Linked DNA regions of Homo sapiens: region 2 is linked to region 1. Evidence: promoter capture Hi-C in 16 types of primary human blood cells and fetal thymus (Javierre and others, 2016). All regions are on one chromosome and are shown on one strand. Each heading gives the region's core, a stretch centred on a gene start or on the middle of the fragment in contact. The rest is flanking DNA. Distances are from core to core; before and after follow the strand shown. Region 1 holds the start of NTS (neurotensin). Region 2 overlaps SLC6A15 (solute carrier family 6 member 15).

The links. The method cuts DNA at HindIII sites, captures the fragments that hold promoters and counts their contacts. A CHiCAGO score of 5 or more calls a contact.
Region 2: a contact is called between a fragment that was not itself captured here and the fragment with the promoter of NTS in region 1, in 2 of 17 cell types (naive B cells and total B cells). The highest score is 7.2, in naive B cells.

Annotation. Positions count from the first base shown.
Region 1 is chr12:85,872,680-85,877,393 of GRCh38, reverse strand. It overlaps NTS (neurotensin), which reads right to left and starts at 3,099. Exons shown (of 4, transcript NM_006183.5): 1 at 2,918-3,099; 2 at 693-754. The coding sequence starts at 2,990. The HindIII fragment of the contact is 11,906 bases long and covers 1-4,712 here.
Region 2 is chr12:84,863,250-84,867,897 of GRCh38, reverse strand. It overlaps SLC6A15 (solute carrier family 6 member 15), which reads left to right. Exons shown (of 12, transcript NM_182767.6): 10 at 705-864; 11 at 4,297-4,459. Among named protein-coding and RNA genes, the nearest start is that of SLC6A15, 47 kb to the left of the region's middle. The HindIII fragment of the contact is 337 bases long and covers 2,756-3,092 here.

The sequences.
Region 1 (4,714 bases), core at 1,850-4,349:
AAAAATAACATGTTTGTTATAGGGAGAATTTAAATCCAGACATACAATGAAGAGTACAGTTTAGTAATTCCTAAATACATTGTAGAACGGTAAATGTCTAGAAGATTACGAACTGCAATCCCTGCATTTAAAAACAAGGAAACACAGGTAAGCAAGGTGAACTAATCCACTTGCTAAAGATAAAATATTTAATAAGTCACTGTTTCAGGATTAGATCTCAATGCTCCTGCTTACCAGTCCATTGCTATCCCCTCTATACTACATTTCTTTTGCAGGTTGTCATGAACTTTTATTTCTAATTTAGGAACACCTTTTTATTTCCCCCAATATAATAAAAAAGGCAAAGAGCTCACTTTGTTTTCATTTAACTTGAGACCAATATACCTTTCATCATACCCAATGTAAAAGGCATGGAAGCAAGTTCCTTTAAAAACATTTACAGGCAAGTAAATATGTGTGGCAATTAATTAAAATTGCAACATGCTGATTGATAGAATTATAATTTCTTTGCCTGTCATATCAACACCTTTAACTTCTTTTAACTAAAAGAAATTTTTTTTTTCAAAAAGGAAATGCCTCTCAAGGAACTTTTCAATCTTGATGAGAAGTTATTACTATGGGAAAAGGATACCATGTTTATAATGAAAGTTCATATGTTCTTCAACTCAGGGTTAAAGAAAAGAAAAAGTTACCTTTGATGTATGCATATTGGTCAAGAAATCTGCTTCTAATGCTTTCATTTCCTCTTCTGAATCTGAGTAAAATCAAAATCAGGTTTACTATAATTACATATCATATAATTATATCATAATCTACAGATTTTAGGTTAATCTAAAAAAAAATCTTAGAGGTTAGTGTCTTTCTTATGTATTTTCTTAAAAATAGTAATCCTAAAAAACAAATTATAGTTATACTTTAGCATAATAGGAAGCTAAAATAGTAGAAGCACTTCTAAGAAAATAAGCATATGATTATTTTTCAGACAGCTATTGATCACTGGGAGTTGTTTAATCTTTGAATTTCAGGCTTTAAAAATGTGATTACATTGTATAACACATATTTTACCAAATATGCTAGAGTAGCTTATTTCTTACCAGCCACAGTTTACATATATAGAAAATATGCATATTAACATTTAAAAACACAACATAATGAAGACTATACAAGAGACTTTTTCAAGACAAAACCAAAGGGAATTGCTTACTGATAATTTTAGAATAATAAAGATACTGAGGTTTACTTAACTTGAGATGTTTTTTACAAAACACACGTTGAAAGAATTGTATTGTACTTTAAGAGAATTCAAAATTATGTATCCTCAATTTTTTCATAGGCATTTAAGGAAATTGTTTAAAGCAAAAGTGGAGCTGTTCAACAACACATGTACAACAGCATTGAAAATGGATCTCTGGATTTTTAAAAAACTCTATCCAAGTTTCTGTTAATGAATATTTTACAGAGAAGGAAAATTTGGAAAATACTATACAATAATAAAAATAAAGTTAAAAATGACTCTATCTTCCTTGTACTACACACTCAGTAAAAAGAAATGCCACAATTGGAGAACCCATTGGCTTAATTTTACCTAGAACCTAAATTATACAAGAGATCTTTTCTCACTATTTGTTAGAGACATAATCTGTTTTAGGAATTTATGAACAATGTATACCAAAATCCTTATAACTATTGCATTATTACAACAAGTAGTTTCAAGTTAATAAACACAGTGCTTAATCAATAACCCAGTTTTTCTTCCAGAAGTATGTGAATCTTTAATCTCATATAACTTTCAGATAAAATCATAATTATAGAAAAGTTTGTTTTTTCTCATAAGATTTAAAAAGTAGAAGCTGAAAGTTATGTTCTGATGATTAAAATAAATTTAAAATTTTGTATAAATCACATTTATATCTTCTTAGATTTTAATTTCATAATTTAAATCAAATGATAGCATGAGTTTGAGTTAAACATTTCCATGTCATATTTATGATACATAAAAGCACAGAACAGGTTAAATTATTTTTGCTGCATTTGCTTCCTAATGTGTTCTTTTCCCTTTGAAGTGTTCATTGTAATATTTCTTAAATATTAAGTAGAGCCTTTTGCAATGGTTGTAATATTTCATGTTATACCTTTCAATTTAAGTCTTATTTTCAAAGTGAGTTATTCGTAGATACTTAGGACTATATAACTTCTTTCAAACCACATGCAAAACACTCTAAAGTCAAATAATTTCCATCAATATAAGAATACCAATTTTCCAATTGTATTTTGTATTAACTTAAATGGCATGGAAAAAATGCCAAACAGTTATATTAATAGCACACTTATTAGACTATGCAAATTCTGTTCTCAAAAAGGATCTGGAATATTTTTGTATTTTTCTAGAAATAATTTTCTACAAATAATGCTTCATTTTTCACTAAGTATCAATTTTCACTTTATTTGTTATCTTAACACAAACAAGAAAATAATACGGGGACTATTACAAGGGCGTGAGGGCCACCGCTTCCTAAGAGAATGAATGAGGATGAGAGTAAAACATTTTGAATGGAATGGGATTTAATGATGGGTTTGCAGGTTGACAGCCACTGCCTCTGTATTTCTCATTAGATAATGATCAGCCTAATTGAAAGTTTTGTAGGGTTTTTTTCCCTCTAGTTGTTGAATTCCAAAGGAGGTCGTGCAGTGTTTCATTGAAATCCCTTTTATTGCTTTGCAGATTTTAAAAGAGAAAATACATCTCTCAGTAATCATAAAGGCAGAGAAAGAGATACTCAGTTTCTGTCACTAAAAGGTAAATCCTGAATAAAAGGGAGCAACTCTTCTCCCCAGATACATTAACATAAGTAGCAACACACTGCAAAAGAGAAAAAAGAAATCACTTCAGGGAGTTGTGAAATTCTGTTTTGCTTACCTGAGCACAGACTCCAGGAGCTGAAAGCCAGGAGTAGCATGCATACAAGCTGGATTTTCATTCCTGCCATCATCTTTCAGCCTTCTAACAAGCCAAGTCCGTAAAAGTCAGAAGCACACTGAAGGGGGCTCTCTCTAGCACTTCCTCTTTCCTTCAGCTGGCTTTGAAAGTGAGTGAACTATGAGAGGTGCTCTGGCCATTCCCCTATATATATAAGCAGGAGGATGATGTCATTGATTGTACAGACATTATCTTTGCAGGATGTGCCCTATCTTCACCTCCATCCCTCCCCTCTTTGCCCTGCTTTCTCCTCCCCTTTTCCTTTGTCCCCCCTGCTCTCCTCCCCCATTTCTGAACCTTGAGTGAAAGTGACGATCTTCCCTAATTGCTGCTGCTGCTGCTTTGGATTTCTGACGCACAGAAGGAGTCATTCAACTGCACTGACATACAGCATACATACAGCATACTGACAAAGAACCCCCAGTATCATCCTTTTCCCACTTCTCATTCCCCCACTCCAAAAGTTGTCATTTTGATTTTGTGAAACATGAGATCTGTTATTTCTAATTTTTAAGGAAAATCTCCAGGATGAATGCATGAAATCAGTGATTCCTTAGGCTTGGAAGTTCTTGAAGAGTTAGGGTGCTTCTCTGGTAATTCAAACTTCTGAGCAAATGTTTAGTGGTTCCAAAACTAATACAGGTTTTAAATAATCCATGCTGGAATAAGATGGAATAGAGACAGAGAATCAGTTATAAAAATTAAGCAATTAAGTTTAGAGAATAGAAAGAAAATCAATAAAAAGAAATAATAGATCCAGGGAATAAGATATTATTTCCTAACAAATAGAAAATATTTTATTGTAAGTAATGAGAGATGACTGAACTATGTGTGCTGACTTTTGGTTGAATGTATTAGAAAAACAATTTCATGTTTATAAAATCCAGCTCTAAATTACTTACATTCTAGCAGGTAAAAATTTGTGTTGTTGTATCACTGACTTTTTTTCTGTACATTATCTCTTTTTATGCCTATATTTTTCTGCTCTTTTTGAATTCATTCTTGATGCCATGTCTCACTCTTTGTATAATTCCCTTCTCAACAGTTTTTACTATTGCATCGGCTTTCTTTCCCTGTTATAATACTCTTTTCACCATAAAAAAAGAGATTGTACTTTTGGAAAGGAGACAATCCTAAATAACCACCATTCACCAAAGTCACTTTTCTATGATAGTCTTCATGTATTTCATGAGTTACACTGATACCCATTCTTTGTCTGAGTTCTCAAAAGAAAATTGTTCAAAATGCCTTTTAGAGTAAAACTTTCTTCTTGTAGTAAGCATTTCAAGATACATGGGGTAATTTGACAAGTCAGTGCTGTTAGAGATGTGAATATTTGAATGTAAAGTTGTCTGAGTCTTGTTTAATTTTTAAATAAATCAATCATGTAGTAACAGTTGAGAAAAAATAGGATTGGTTCCTATAGATAATTGATTTATATTATACAATCTATGAGTTTAACTTTTTCACCTTTACCCAAAACTTAAGCAAAGCGATTAAATCCAAACATTTAATAATTACTTAGAATAGCAAGGAGTCTTTCATATAATACCAGAAATTTAATAATAACTGATATATTTATTACTTTTAGTTTGTTTTCTGAACTTACATAAAACACAATATTGAACATACTCACATGGAGGAAGGTTTCTGTAAAGTATTTAGTTGACAAATGTGAAATACATACGTCTAGATGTTTTCTGCTTTCCTACCATTAGGGGGAGCAATGGAAGCTTG
Region 2 (4,648 bases), core at 1,675-4,174, 1.0 Mb after region 1:
AGCTGGTCAGAAATTTATGCATCTGTTTCTTAGCTATTACTGGGGAAACTCTTTTTAGATGATTTTTCTTAGATGTTATGTGGATGATCAGATTGCTCAACTCCATTATAATTTGTTTCCAAACTAATCTGTTCAGGCAAGATAAAGATATAAATGTGGATTGTTGCTGAGGTTAAGTCTGGTCAGATTTTTCCACTTATGCTTGAAAAGTAACCATATTTCAATCAAATATATAATATGTATATTTCATAATAATATAAGCAATATTAGTCTCATTATTAATTCAAAAATCTCATCTATATTTCAACACTGTAGAACATTATTAAATGAATAAATGACCTATAAATATTTGGTGCCTGAAGAAGTCACTTTGCTATTAATTATACGAATAGAGTATGGAAATTTATACTTTTAAATTTTTCTCTAAACTTTGACTCATTTATTATTGTACTTGGTAAATGAGTTTCCACGGGCTCAGGGAGATGAATTACTGTCTTAGAATAAATTTGTATGAATGTTGAGGCTACACCCAGGTAACCTAATTCCTAATAGGTTATATGCCATGTATCAGGAAAGGTATTGCCTGTTTATATGATGGACATGTTATAAAAGTTTTAAAAGTTTGAATATAATAATTTATAATAAAGTTTAAAGGCCTTGTCTCTGAATAGAGTCTCATTTTTTCATTTATTTCTTTTGTCTAGTTATCTGTTGTCTTCTGGCATTTTGTATTGGCCTGATATTTGTGCAACGCTCTGGAAATTACTTTGTTACAATGTTTGATGATTATTCTGCTACACTGCCTCTGCTAATTGTAGTCATTTTGGAGAATATTGCTGTATGCTTTGTTTATGGCATAGATAAGTAAGTATATTTGCTTTTATGTATTCACTTTTAATCTCTAGTTTGAAAACATCAATTATCAATGTTCATTTCATTTAGAAGAGGAAATAAATGAATAGAGGGAACAATTCTTTAAAAAATCAAACCTTTTGCAGGCTCTCACTGATTCAACAGTTTTGGTAAATTACATTTCCCTGTTGGGCAAATAGAATTATATAGGATGTAATAGTATGTAGAATTTTAGATCTTTGATTTGGTCCTGGTTATCAAATAGCTAACTTTCAGGATTTAGTAAGTATTGGCAGAGTTCCAAGAACCTTAGTTTCTTTTGAGTTCTTTATTGTTATCTACATTTCACAGATAAGGAAAATCAAGCTTAGAGAGACACCCTGTGACTTGCCTGTCACCCACCTGGACAGCAGCAGACCTGGGACTCATGTCCATTTCTGTTTAACTCTAAAGCTTATCTCCTAATTATATTGCTAAATTGATTTATAAGAGGAGTGCATGTGTCATAATGCCTTATATAGCAGGACAATATTGGGAAATGATATTTTCCCAGGTCTGAGATGTATATGTCATTTGCTGCACAGAAACATTATTTTTATATAGAGTCATTACTTAAATTCACTATACGCATAAATAATGAATAAATTCACTATTTATTCATAAATTCATATCAAATACACATACTTTTCACACCATTCAGGTACACTGATGTGAAAAGTGTATGTATTTGAAATGATGTGAAGCACCAGAGTTCTCTCAAGGGAAAAAGACCTTTGGAGGATTTGTCCAATACTTTTTATAGTCACTGTCTCTAATCACATACATGGACTGAGAGGTAGTAAGATCACCAAGCTCATTACAGCCCTATGTAAAGTAGTAATGCATGCACCTTAAGTGAAGGCCAGAGTCCTTTTAAGCAGCATAAAGAATATTGTGGGTATTGAATGAGCTTTATAACAAAGCTTAGAGAATGTTTTTTGTGGTTGCCAAAAGCTCCAGGTCAGGAAGCTTAGGAGAACTTACATTTAATAATCATGTACTGTATAATAATAGTAGTAATAGCTCTTAGTGTATAATCCAGCAATCATGCTACTTGGTATTTACCCAAAGGAGTTGAAAACTTATGCCCACTTAAAATTCTGCACGTGGGTGTTTATAGCAACTATATTCATAATTGCCCAAACTTGGAGGCAAACAAGATATCCTTTAGTAGGTAAATGGATAAATTGTCATACATCCAGACAATGAAATATTATTCAATCCATGAAAAGACACAGAGGAAATTTTAATGCACATTACTTAGTGAAAAAAGTCACATATGAAAAGGTTACATATTGTAAGATTCCCCTATATTATAATATGGAAAAGGTAAAACTATGGAAACAGTAAAAACATCAGCAGTTAACAGGGGTTGGGCCAGATCCAGGGATGTATACGCTGAGCACAGAATGTTTAGGGCAGTGAAACTACTCTGTATGACACTGTAATGGTGGACACACGTCATTATACATTTGTCCAAATCCAGAGAATGTACTACACAAACAGTGAATTCCAGTGTAAACTGTGGGCTCTAGGTAATAATGATGTGTTAACTTATGTAGGTTCATCAATTGTAACCAACATTCCACTCTCGTGGGGGTTGCTGATAATGGAGGAGGTTATGCACATATATTGGTAGGAGCTATATGGGAAATCTCTCTACTTTCAGCTCAATTTTGCTGTGAACCTAAAATTGCTCTTAAAAAATAAAGTGTGTAATCAAAAAATACTCCTTGTTAACTAACATGATCCATATCTTACAGATGGGAAACTGCCCCTTCTTTTACAGGAGGATACAATATGTTAGCTGTAGAGCCAGTACTGTAACCTTGACCTTCATTTCAAGGCCAGGTTTCTCTAAGCTTTACTAGGCTACTCAAAACTCATAACCTGTACCATGATGGAATTTGATATTGTTTTTGGACTGATCTGTAAATAAATACATTTGTAATTTAGATTTCCATTTAGACAGTTCGTTATTCATGATAGACTTACTAAAGAATCTCTCTTTTTAATGCTAGTGTTCCTGAATAACACTATTTATAACAACAGAAGAAAAAATACTACTACTAATAGATGCATCTGTCGATTTTGTACCATATGTGAGGTAGTATGCTAAGCATCCATTGTTTATGGTTCTAGTAATAACCCTCAAAGGTGGGTATTATATTATATTTTTGGAAAACACCAAAAATGAAGCTTAGAGAGATTAAGATATACATCAAAAGAACACAGAACTGTGATCTGAAATGAGGTCTCTTGGTCTTCAAAGTTCATATTTTTTCTAAAGGGCAGGTGTAGAATTCTTACATTGAAGATGTCCTTTAAGATTCTGGAGCAACTTGGAAGAAATGAAAAAGGGAAGAGAAACATAGAGATTAAGACTGGGCCAGGTGTGGTGGCTCAAGCCTGTAATCCCAACACTTTGGGAGGTCAAGGTGGGCAGATCACTTGAGGTCAGGAGATCGAGAGCAGTCTGACCAACATGGTGAAACGCCATCTCTACTAAAAATACAAAAATCAGCCGGGCGTGATGGTGGTCGCCTGTAATCCCAGCTACTCGGGAGGCTGAGGCAGGAGAATTGCTTGAACCTGGGAAGATGAGGTTGCAGTGAGTCGAGATTGTGCCACTGTACTCCAGCCTGGGCAACAGGTGAGACTCTGTCTCAAAAAAAAAAAAAAAAAAGAAAGAAAGAATGGACTCAAGAGACATAACAATTCATAACAATTAGTTATTATATGTAGACCTTTTTAGAAATTCGGAATGTAAAAAGAAGAGTTCAGAAAATATAACATTGATTAGGTATATTTGATGATATTAAGGAATTATTATTATGCTTTTAATGCTGTGATATTAAGGAATTATTACTTTTACTAATTATTACTAAAGTAATAGTAAAATTATTAGGAAAAGTAGTAATTAGTAAAATTATTTACTAATAAGTAATTATTACTAAAAGTAATAATTCCTTGATAGAATAGTATTAATAGCATAGTAATAATTCCTTAATATATAATTACTTAATATTTCTTAATAATATTTAAGCAGTAATTACTAAAAGAAATAATTTCTAAATAATTCCTTTTTGTAATTATTACTTGTATTACTAAAAAAGAGACAAGAAATTTTTAATATACTGAAAATATTTTGTTTATAGAATAGAAAGTTATCAGTAGAAGGAGAAATCAGTAATTGGCTTAAGAGAGCTTTCCCTAAATAAAAATTATAGTACTTACCTGGCTTCATTTTACTTTATAGTCATCTTCCAAGAGGAACTTTGATACAGTATAAAATGTCATAGGGTATCAATGGTAAATGTTTGTCAGACCATTAATATAATGCACATTTTTTAAGGTTTAGCAATATTAAATTAAGGAATAATTAAATACTTTCTTTTTATTCAGGTTTATGGAAGACCTAAAAGATATGCTGGGCTTTGCTCCCAGCAGATATTACTACTATATGTGGAAATATATTTCTCCTCTAATGCTATTATCATTGCTAATAGCTAGTGTTGTGAATATGGGATTAAGTCCTCCTGGCTATAACGCATGGATTGAAGATAAGGTAAATACAAAATAAGGGAATTACATTTTTAAAAGATATATAAAAAGCTTTTTTAGAGGGCTTTTTCTTTTGTCTCCATCACAGTATTTTTTGCTGTTTAATGAATGGCATAGCTTTTATGCAAGGATATGAGATTTACGTTTGTGCTCTGCCCCGAGCATATGTGATTTTTTAAATACATTGTGGATG